Linked DNA regions of Homo sapiens: regions 2, 3 and 4 are each linked to region 1. Evidence: promoter capture Hi-C in human tissues and cell types (Jung and others, 2019). All regions are on one chromosome and are shown on one strand. Each heading gives the region's core, a stretch centred on a gene start or on the middle of the fragment in contact. The rest is flanking DNA. Distances are from core to core; before and after follow the strand shown.

Region 1 (2,613 bases), core at 37-2,536:
ATTCATCTTCAACGCCCTCAAACAACCAGTCAAAGTCTTCTCCATTAAGATTATCAGCTTTGGGATAACCAATTTTTTTTAATGTTTCCACAAACTCATTTCCACAACTCATGGTTTTAACTACCCCAATTTTGTTGTATCTGATATGGGTTTACGGTGTTGATTTTTAGAAAATAAATCCAAGCAGAAAAAAAGCTACGTTTTATACCAAGTCCACAGAGAAGGGAAAATATATTTTTAGAATCTATAATGATTCCTCCTAGGGGGGAAGAAAACAAGTATTAGACCACAAATATGACGACAGTGTTTTTAAAAAGAAGACACAGACAAATATCACATGATATCCGAGAGCGGGATAAATGACAGGTAGTCGTAGCTGCAATGTTTGATGATGATAAAGAGAAACAGAAACAATTAGGCTAGTTCTCAGAAAACCGCAACAGTAACGAAAAGTAATTAACAAGAAAGTGGATCTATTTGGATCCATTTTATCTTTTTTTCCAAAGATAAAATGGTTTAAAATGCATTACACTTTATAGAGCAGCATTTGTTTTTAATTCAAAATAAATGGATCCAAACAAACCCAAGCCACCAGGAGGCTAGGCAGCCTCTCTTCCCTGCCCTCCGTACGTAAGAAGACGCAAATAAGCATGGCACATCTTCTGAAGATCAACTAAATATTTACCTCAACGTCTCGCCGGGCAAGGCTCCACCTCCAGAGTCCACCACCGCGACGCGGAGAACAGCAGGAGCAGCAGGGAAGCGCGCGGCCACAATTAAGGGTGCTTCGGGCCGGCCTTCAGCCAGCGCTGAGGCAGCCCCGACGCCAGGGCCGCGCGAACCCCAGAGGCAGCGGCAAGCCCCAGGGATCCGCGGCCCCAAGGCCGCGATACACCAGACGCGCCAGCGGCAAAACCTTCCTTCGGAGGGTCACCCAGCTGTGACACCTAAGCACGCTGACAAAACAAACGCACAAGCCCACCGAATCGCCGTCGACACCGAGCTGCAGAAGACGGGGGTGACAGGCCCCGCACAGCCCCCGCCCCAGCTCCTCGCCCAGCGGACCGGGCCCTGATCCCCGGGCAGCTGCTGGAGCACCTGGAAGGAGCCCCCAGGAGCGCAGGAAAAAAAAGAGGCACCTGGGTGCAGACGGGGATCGCGGCCACTCCTCCAGCCCCACACCCCTGCGCCCAGAACCGAGGCCCGCGTCAGTCACCTCAGGAAGTTCCGCTTGCTTCTCGCAGGAGCCCGCCGCCACCGCCCTCCGTGCCCCGCGCGCCTCGCACTGCCTCACGGGAGCGCCTGGACGCGCGCAAGCGCACAAGGCGACGGCGTGGTCGTGGGGGATGACTGTTTGCGCAGGCGTAGTGTCAAAAGAGGCGGAGTCGGCGAGGCTGGACTATGGGGTGGAGCTGAGCAGGCGGCGCTCGGCCCCCGGCCGCTGCGGGCATCCTGCCTCCTGGGCGGGGCGCAGGGCAGAGAGAGGCGGGGTCTGGGCCGGGAAGGGCGGGGACAGGGCCTGGACAGGGGCGGGGCCTGGGCAGGGGGCGGAGCCTGGGCAATGAATGGGGTGCAGAGGGGTGCAGAGGGGTGCGGTGGGGCGCCCTCTGGGGAGCTGAAGCTGCGGGCCTGCTCTCAACGGAGCCGTCAGTTGTGCTTCAGGCCTGCCCTGCCCCGTACTTCAATCTAGACCCTCTGAAGGCACTTTTGAATGGTACAAAGAGCAGCGCAGGTTGGTGGTTGGGAGACAGGCTGGAGCCCGGCGGTGATAGCGCTCGCCCCCGAGAGAGACGAGTTCCCGGAACATTCACAGCAGCCCGACCAATGCCTGGTACATTTTAAGGGTTAGGGATTGTTCGCTTAGAGTCTTTTACAATGAACTTTATTTTGCAAAAACACTTAATTTCTAATCCCTCACCAGAACACTATGTAAAAGCTGACTTCTGGCCGGGCGCGGTGGCTCATGCCTGTAATCCCAGCACTTTGGGAGGCCGGGGGGGGGGGGGGGGGGGATCATGAGGTCAGGAGTTCGAGACCAGCCTGGCCAAGATGGTGAAACCCCATCTCTACTAAAAAATACAAAAATTAGCCGGGCGCGGTGGTGGGCGCCTGTAATCCCAGCGACTCGGGAGGCTGAGGCAGGAGAATCGTTTGAACCCAGGAGGTGGAGGTTGCAGTGAGCCGAGATCACGCCACTGCACTCTAGCCTGGGCGACAGAGCAAGACTCCGTCTCAAAAAAAAAAAAAAAAAAAAAGCTGACTTCCTCCACAATTCCCTTTTCAAAATGTTAGAAATAAACGGAATGGCCTGAGTTAAATACATCGATATATTTAACTCAAGGAGGATGGTACACCATTTCCAAAGAGGATGGCAGTCAGTGAAAGATGACTGAAACGGGATTGCTAAATTTCATGTGAATCTGGCTGATGCCCTACAGCCCAGTGAAACCAGACCTCTCTATTGGACAGAATTCGTTTGCATCTCTACCAAACAAAAATCCTTTGCCACTCCTCAGTCTTCCACAGGTTAGCAGGGGCTTTGGTCATGGGTAAATATAATAGTACTCCCTCCCTTCAGCGTCAAATGACCCTAAAGGTGGCTTGTTAGACAAT
Region 2 (2,613 bases), core at 68-2,567, 550 kb after region 1:
CTTTCTGAGGCTTGGGACCCATTATTGGGCAGCTCTGGGACAGGTGGACGGTGACTTGGCCCACACTCGGTCCAGCTGCAACCCTGAGAACCCGCTTGGTTTGGCTGTGTCTCCTGGAGGCCCTCAGGTATTTCAACCTGTAGGACCCAAACCCAGTCCTTCACCTGCTGCAGGGCCAGCCCTGGACACCCCTGCCCCTGCCTGATTTGGAGCAGCCAATTCAGCCCCTGTCATTGGACTCTGGCCTCTTGTGCTCAGTACAGAGGGTCAGACCTTGGCCGCCTGCCTGGACAGGGCCAGGTCACCACCACCCACCCCCAGCTCCCTTGGGTTCCCAGCAAGATCCTGTCCTTCCTCTACTCACAGCTTCCTGGGCTCTGGGACCTGGGGTCCAGTCCCCACTCCTCATGGGGAGGAGTCCCCCCACGCCCCAAGCAGTTGACTCCCGCACTGGTGGGGGGTCCGCTCGCCCTCAAGCTCTGCAGGCCCAGCTTGGTCTCCCCAGCCTCTTCACTTTCTCCACGGCTCCCTCCACCTACCTGGCCCTGAGAGCTCCCCAGGGAAGCCATTTCCTCCCAGGAAGCCCCTCCTCTTCTCGCCCCTGCCCTTACACCAAGGCATCTGGGCCTACTCTTAGGGAGAGGGTGATGGTGGAGGAAAGGGAGCCTCAGAGGAGGCCAAGTGTAAAGCACCCGGTCTCCTGTGCCTCCCAGCCCCAAGACGACCTCTGGGCCACCGGAGTCCAGACCTGGTCCAAGAGGCGAGGTCCCCCTGGGAAGTGCCTGAAAAGTACCCTGGAGGACATTTGGAAACAAAGACAAGGTTTCCTGGTGCCCAGCAAGCCCTCCCCCACCTCCCCTGCTCCTGTCTTGGCCAGGGCCTAAGTCGCACTCACGGGGCAGGGGTGGGGCCGCCCAGGATCAGGACCACGGGGCTGGGGGGGTGGACAGCGCCCTTTCCACCTGGGTCGCTGGGCACTGGGGTGTCACTGGGAGGGACACGCAGGAGGGACAGACACGCTACCTCACTCACGGGCGAGAACTAAGCACCTACTGTGGACCCGGCGTCTAGGCCCGCGACAACGCCAGTCTTCGCCCCCCAGGGGCCTCGTCCCGGGGCCGCGGAGGCCACGTGCAGTTCCCCGCCCACCCTGAGGTACCGGCCCCGCCCCACGCCCAGCTCGGACCTCCAGGATTGCGGGACCCGCCGGGGAGGGGCGGGGCCGGGGCGGGGCCAGGAGGAGGGCGGACTGGGCGGGCGCGGGCGGGACGGAGCTGCGGCGGCGGCGGGTCCCGCGGGCGGGAGCGCCTGGCGGCCGAGTCAAGCCGCCGCCTCGACCCAGGGCCCGCGGGCCAGGAGAGCGCTCGGCGGGTAAGCCTCGGCGGCGGGTCTCGGCGGGTCTCGGGGGTCTCGCGGGGGGGCGGTCTCCGCGTCTGGAAGGGGCTCGGCGGGCCTTGGCGGTCTGGGGGCTCTCGGCGGGTCTCGGGGGTCTCGGGGGAGTCTCGGGGTCCCGACAGGTCTCGGCGGGTCTCGGGGGTCTCGGGGGAGTCTCCGGGGAGTCTCAGGGGTCCCGGCAGGTCTTGGCAGGTCTCGGGGGAGTCTCAGGGTCCCGGCAGGTATGGGCGGGTGTCGGGGGTCTCGGGTGCGCAGCAGCCTCCCCCGGGCCCCGGGGCCTCCGTGTCCTTGCCAAAGGACGCACGGGGCCTGGGCACGGCGGGCAGTGCCCGAGGGAGCGCGGCTTCGGGGCGGGGGCCGGGTGTCCCTTGCCGGGGGCTCAGGGGTGGGAGGCGGTGCGACGCGTCTGTTTCGCACCCCTCGCGCCCCTCTGGCCCCGCGGCGGGGCCCCTTTACGCGACCCTCCCCACAAGACTCAAAGGCTGCGGCGGGCACTCGCTCTCCGCCCTTCCCGGAATCCAAACTTCCCTCTGCAGCGGCCGCGCTTCACGGAGGGCAAGAAAAGCCGCCCACTGGCGCTGATTCACACTGAAGTGTGAGTGACTGATAGCCGGGCGTCTGAGACTCTCATGGGCAACAGGGAATCTCAGGGGTGGCAGAGGGACTGGAGGAGTTAGGGGGCGGGGACAGCCCCTTCCACCTGTACGCTGGCCTCCCTGCAGCCCAGCACTTTCCCGCTGCTCTGGGCCTCGGCTCCCTGGGGGTATTGAGGGCCTGAGCCCTGCTGTGGGGAGCCTTCTGCTGGTGCTCCTTTCCGTGAGCACCTCCTATCCCCTCTCTGTGCCTCAGTTTGCTCATCTGTTGACACTGGGGACAGCTGTGCCTCCTGGTCTAGTGGCCACACTTAAGTCCTTCGAATTGGCTGTGGCCAGGGGCGGGTACTCCGTGTGGGCTGCTGGGGTGGACAGCCTGCCTGGATGACATGTGTGTGGCCTTGCAGGTGACATGGGCCGGTGATGCAATGTGTAGAATTGTTTCCACAACCGCCTGAAGGCAGGGCCCACAGCCTCCTCCTTGCCGAAGCAAGCCTCTGGGTTCAGGTCAGCCCTGCACCAACTCCATGAGCCTGGACAAGCTCCTGCCCTCACTGGCTCAGGCCCTGTGGGACCAGAGGAGGGGCTGGGCTCCACCCCCTCCTGGTTCTTCCCACTCTGTCCA
Region 3 (2,613 bases), core at 44-2,543, 540 kb before region 1:
GGTGCGGTGGCTCACACCTGTAATCCCAGCACTTTGGGAGGCCGAGGCAGGCAGATCACCCAAAGTCAGGAGTTCGAGACCAGCCTGACCAACATGGAGAAACACCATCTGTACTAAAAATACAAAAAAATTAGCCCAGGCATGGTGGCGCATGCCTGTAATTCCAGCTACTTGGGAGGCTGAGGCAGGAGAATCGCTTGAACCTGGGAGGCGGAGGTTGCGGTGAGCCAAGATTGCACCATTGTACTCCAGCCTGGACTAGAGTGAAACTCGGTCTCAAAAAAATCACTATCCGCTGGGCACAGTGGCTCACGCTTGTAATCACAGTACTTTGGGAGGACTACTTGAGGCCAGGAGTTCAAGACCAGCCTGGGCGACATAGGGAGACTCCCATCTCTATAAAAATTTAAAAGTTTAGCCAGGTGTGGCGGCATGCACCGCTGGTCCCAGCTACTCAGGAGGTTGAGGTAGGAGGATTGCTTGAGGCCAGGAGTTAAGACTACAGTGAGCCATGATGGTTGGGCGTGGTGGCTCACCCCTGTAATCCCAGCACTGTGGGAGGCAGAGACAGACGGATCACGAGATCAGCAGTGCGAGACCAGCCTGGCCAATATGGTAAAACCCCATCTCTACTGAAAATACGAAAATTAACCAAGTGTGGTGGCAGGCGCCTGTGGAGGCTGAGGCAGGAGAATCGCTTGAACCCGAGAGGTGGAGTTGAAATTGCGCCACTGCACTCCAGCCTGGGCAACAGAGCAAGATTCCGTCTCAAAAAAATGAATACACAGTGAGACATGATATAACACTGCACTTCAGCCTAGGTAACAGCAAGACTCGGTCAGGAGGGAAAAAAAAAAGCACCATCACATTGAATCTTACTATTCCTTTGCCAGCTATGTTCCAAAAAAGTAAAAAAAAAAAAAAAAAATTGTTTTTTTTGAGATGGAGTCTTGCTCTGTGACCCAGGCTGGAGTGCAGTGGTGCAATCTCGGCTCACTGCAACCTCCTCCTCCCAGGTTCAAGTGATTCTCCTGCCTCAGCCTCCCGAGTAGCTGGGACTACAAATGTGTGCCACCACGCCCAGCAAATTTCTTGTATTTTTAGTAGAGACGGGGTTCCACCGTGTTAGCCAGGGTGGTCTCGATCTCCTGACCTCATGATCCGCACTCCTCGGCCTCCCAAAGTGCTGGGATTACAGGCATGAGCCACTGCACTCAGCCAAAAGTAAAATTTTTTTTTTTAAGAGACAAAGTCTCATACTCTGCAGCCCAGGCTGGAGTGCAGTGGTGTGATTAATGGTTCACTGTAACGTTGAATTCCTGGGCTGAAGCAGTTCTCCCACCTGTCTCCCAAGTAGCTGGGACTACAGGTGCAAACCACCACACCTGGCTAATTTTTAAATTTTTTGTAGAGATGAGGTCTCCTTATATTGCCCAGGCTAGTCTCCTGGCCTCAAGCAGTCCTCTCGGCCTCCCAAAGTGCTGGAATTACAAGCATGAGCCATTGCACCTGGCCCAGAAATGTAAATTTCAACCCCAATCCTGCCAAAAAGTTCAGGAAAACACTAAAGCTTTCTTTATATCCTTCTGTGTCTGTGTGTTTGAGGGACCAGGATAGGCAAGAACATGCTGCTTAAAGACAATAGGGCAATGCCAATTTTTTTTTCTCCAATTAGAATTTTACAATATTTAACTTGAACTTCATTTTTCCCCATCATGTATTTTAATAAGCTTACATCTATGATTGCTGACTCCTAAGAAATAAAATGTTATCTAACATTCAAAATTATATGAAAATGATTTTTAAAATCTTCATGTCTTTAGTTTTCCAGTTGCCAATCCATTCTTTATTTACGTCATAAGCCCCAGTAAGTCCCTATTAAATAGCTCTTAGCAGGTGTGAACTATCCCCAGCATCATTTGTACTACCCAATCTAAGCAACTCTTTAGAAACGCAATGCCACACAGCTTGTTCAAGACATGCCACTGAAACAAGACTACCTTGGGACTTCTTTAATATAACGATCGTAGGCAATTGTGTTCTTCCCATAGTTGATCTGCTTCTGTCTCCTCATTAGGACACTTTCATCTGTCTCAAAGTCAGCCGGCACAGTAGACATAGACTCCTTTGAATCAGAACTGAAAAAACAACAGATTAACAGAATAAGCCCTGCAATTAAGATCACCATGTATGTAAGGTAAGCCAAGAAAATGTCAAAACACAATAATGGAAGATTCACTCCAGATTCCCAACCATATGAATCCTAAATAGTCCGGAGACTGCATGTATGGGAATTTAGTACACAACAGATACAGTATTTCAAATTAGTGAAAAAGGTATTAATAAATGCTACTGCGACAGTCAGCATTTCTGACAGTCACAATTTTTTTTTTTTAACAAATTACAGGTCTATCAAATTAGAAAAGAAACATTTACACAGCCTTTACCTTCCTGATGATGATTTTCTCTCTCTTCCAAAGTCATTGATGAGGAGTTTCCTTTTATATCTGAGGGCAAAATAAATATTGCTGTTTTTAAAAAAGATATAAAAATAAAGCAGCCAGGTCTGAGGAAGCTCCACCCTGATGCCCGCAGGCACACCATCCTATGCAA
Region 4 (2,613 bases), core at 77-2,576, 510 kb after region 1:
CACTGCACCCAGCCTAGGATTTGTGTCCTTTATCAGACACGGGCTGCATTTGCCATTGCTCCCAGCATAGAGTTGAAGCGCCACTAGTGAAAGACACATGCATGGGTGAGGGCTGGAAGGGACTCTAGAACACAATATGAGTACACGACCTTGGACCCAAGACACACATGTGTGCGTACACACACACACCATACACACCCCTCAGAATGTGTCTCCCGCACACACACCTCAAAACACCCCTAAGAACCAACCGGAACATACACACTACACAATACACACAGAATACACACAGCATACACACACCCCCCTCGGAATGTGTTCCCACACACGAACCTCAAAATACCCCTAAGAGCCCACCTGAACATACACCACACACACACAGAACCCAAGAACTGCACCAACCCCCCTCCTCAGAACCCAGTGCCTCCTCACCATCCCCCAGGACCCAGTGCCCTCCCAACCCCCCAGGATCCAGCATTCGCTTATCCCCTTCAGAACCTTGCACCCTCACCCCGCAGGACCCAGAGCCCCCTCACCTCCACCAGCACCTGGTGACGCCTCAAACCCCCCAGGACCCAGCACACCTCAGCCCGTGGTGTCCCCTTATCCCACTCAGGACCTGGTCCCCCTCTCTCCCCTAGGACCCAGGGTCCCCTCACCCCCCAGAAGCTGTTGCCCTATCACCCCCAGGACCCGACGGCCCCTTACCCCCAGGACCTAGTGTCCCTCAACCCCAGGACCCGGCACCCCCTCAACCCCCAGGACCTGATGCTCCCCCAACCCCTCAGGAGCCGGGGCCCCCTCACCCCCAGGACCCGGCACCCCCTCAACTCCCAGGACCTGGTGCTCCCCCAACCCCTCAGGACCCGAGGCCAACTCAACCCCAGGACCCAGTACCCCCTCAACCCCTCAGGACCCGGGGCCCGCTCGCTCACCCACCCAGGACCCGGCGGCCGCCACACGCACTCTCGCTCCCGCAGCTCCTCTGGTACCCGCCCTCGTACCTGGCGCATCTGGGCCTCGGCGGCGCCGCCCTCCTGCCTTCGCAGCTGCTCCCGGAAGCGCGCAACCTGCTCCAGCAGCGCGTCCACTAGGGACGGCGCGGCGTCCCCCTCCAGCGCGGCCAGGCGGGCGCGGAGGCGAGCGATGAGGGCGTCGCGGGCAGCGAGCTGGTCCTGCAGGCGGCGCAGCCGCTGTCCGGCCTCGTGGTACAGGGTGCAGAGCGCGGCAGCTGCGCGCGGGGCCTCCTCCCAGCCGCCCGACCCCGGGTCCCGGGACATGGCTGTAGGCCCGCCCGGGAGGCCGCGCGGCCGCCGGCAACTTCCGCGCCCGGGCCCCGCCGGCTGCCGCCCTTCCCGGAACTTTCCCCGGTGCGCCCCGCCCACCCACAACAGCCCGGCCCCGCCCTCCCCCACGCAGCCCCGCCCCCCGCGCAGCCCCGCCCTTCCCCGCGCAGCCCCGCCCGACGGCAGCCCGCCCAGCCCCTTCTCGCCCGGCCCCACCCCTCCCACCGCCTACAGCCCGGCCCCGCCCCTGCCGTCCGCACCCGTCCGGGAGAGTTGGCCTGGCCCCCGAGGCTGTCCACACCCCAGCTGGTGCTGGGCTTATTCCAGTGGCCCCAAACATCCGCCTCTGAGGAGTTGTCGGAGAGTCGAACTCAGCCCAGGAGTTTGGGGATTCATCAGCCTCTGATGGAAAGGAAGGGCTTAACGACAACCCCCAAGCTCTGGAGCTAAGTGTGGGTCTGAATCTCCCCGCGAGGGTCCAGGCCTTGCGGCCACAGCAGCAACAGAAGCTCCAGGAGCTGAGCTCGCAGCGCACCAAGCACGTGGCATGTGTTCCGTCACCTGGGGACACTGAGCCCAGAAAGAGCTCCAACCCCCTGCCCCGCACGCCGCTTTCTTTTTTCTTTCCTTTTTTTTCTTCTTTTTGAGACGGAGTTTCGCTCTGTTGCCCAGGCTGGAGTGTAATGGCGCGATCTCGGCTCACTACAACCTCCGCCTCCCAGTTTCAAGCGATTCTCCTGCCTCAGCCTCCTGAGTAGCTGGGATTACAGGCGCCCGCCACCATGCCCTGCTAATTTTTTGGTATTATTAGTAGAGATGGTGTTTCACCATGTTGGCCAGGCTGGTCTTGAACTCCTGACCTCAGGTAGATCCACCGGCCTCAGCCTCCCAAAGTGCTGGGATTACAGGCGTCAGCCACTGCAGACGCTGCTTTGTAAGGTGGCTAGTATGGGCCCACGGGACAACCTTCCTGCTAGATGCTGTTCTTATATAGCAGAAGCAGCAGGAAACCAGCCCCTTCCCACCCTTTCGCTTTTCCATCCCTTTCCTTCCCCAAAATTCCCAGACAAACGCTAGTGTTTTTCCACAGCCCAGTCTTCCCCACAATGATGCCCAAGCACACATGGGGTCTTTCCAAGGTTCCCTACTCAGGATAGGGCAGGGGTCTTCCCTGTGTGTGCACTTGCCCACAGGCTCCGCCCCTGAGCAGCTTCTTGACTTTCTTCCCTTATGTGATCCACAGCCAAGCCTGAGCTGAGCCTGGGAAAACACAAGCTTGTAGAATCAGACAAGCCTATAAGCAAAGCCAGAGCCACCCAAGTGCTTA

The links. The method cuts DNA at HindIII sites, captures the fragments that hold promoters and counts their contacts. A contact is called where the count stands out against the background at its distance.
Region 2: a contact is called between the fragment with the promoter of SH3BP2 here and the fragment with the promoter of HAUS3 in region 1, in 3 of the 25 tissues and cell types used here (dorsolateral prefrontal cortex, heart left ventricle and lymphoblastoid cells).
Region 3: a contact is called between a fragment that was not itself captured here and the fragment with the promoter of HAUS3 in region 1, in 1 of the 25 tissues and cell types used here (hippocampus).
Region 4: a contact is called between the fragment with the promoter of TNIP2 here and the fragment with the promoter of HAUS3 in region 1, in 5 of the 25 tissues and cell types used here (IMR-90 fibroblasts, liver, lymphoblastoid cells and 2 more).

Annotation. Positions count from the first base shown.
Region 1 is chr4:2,240,835-2,243,447 of GRCh38, forward strand. It overlaps HAUS3 (HAUS augmin like complex subunit 3), which reads right to left and starts at 1,287. Exons shown (of 6, transcript NM_001303143.2): 1 at 1,217-1,287; 2 at 686-956; 3 at 1-259. The coding sequence starts at 112. It overlaps POLN (DNA polymerase nu), which reads right to left and starts at 1,287. Exons shown (of 26, transcript NM_181808.4): 1 at 1,217-1,287; 2 at 686-956. It also overlaps the pseudogene COX6B1P5. RefSeq lists enhancers at 470-971, 578-677 and a silencer at 1,358-1,717. The HindIII fragment of the contact is 17,295 bases long and covers 1-2,613 here.
Region 2 is chr4:2,791,768-2,794,380 of GRCh38, forward strand. SH3BP2 (SH3 domain binding protein 2) reads left to right here and starts at 1,318. Exons shown (of 13, transcript NM_001122681.2): 1 at 1,318-1,371. RefSeq lists a silencer at 1,036-1,385. The HindIII fragment of the contact is 44,064 bases long and covers 1-2,613 here.
Region 3 is chr4:1,697,564-1,700,176 of GRCh38, forward strand. It overlaps SLBP (stem-loop histone mRNA binding protein), which reads right to left. Exons shown (of 8, transcript NM_006527.4): 4 at 2,448-2,507; 5 at 2,001-2,138. Among named protein-coding and RNA genes, the nearest start is that of SLBP, 13 kb to the right of the region's middle. The HindIII fragment of the contact is 4,940 bases long and covers 1-2,613 here.
Region 4 is chr4:2,755,010-2,757,622 of GRCh38, forward strand. It overlaps TNIP2 (TNFAIP3 interacting protein 2), which reads right to left and starts at 1,327. Exons shown (of 6, transcript NM_024309.4): 1 at 1,005-1,327. The coding sequence starts at 1,280. RefSeq lists silencers at 870-929, 950-1,469, 1,650-1,789. The HindIII fragment of the contact is 11,459 bases long and covers 1-2,613 here.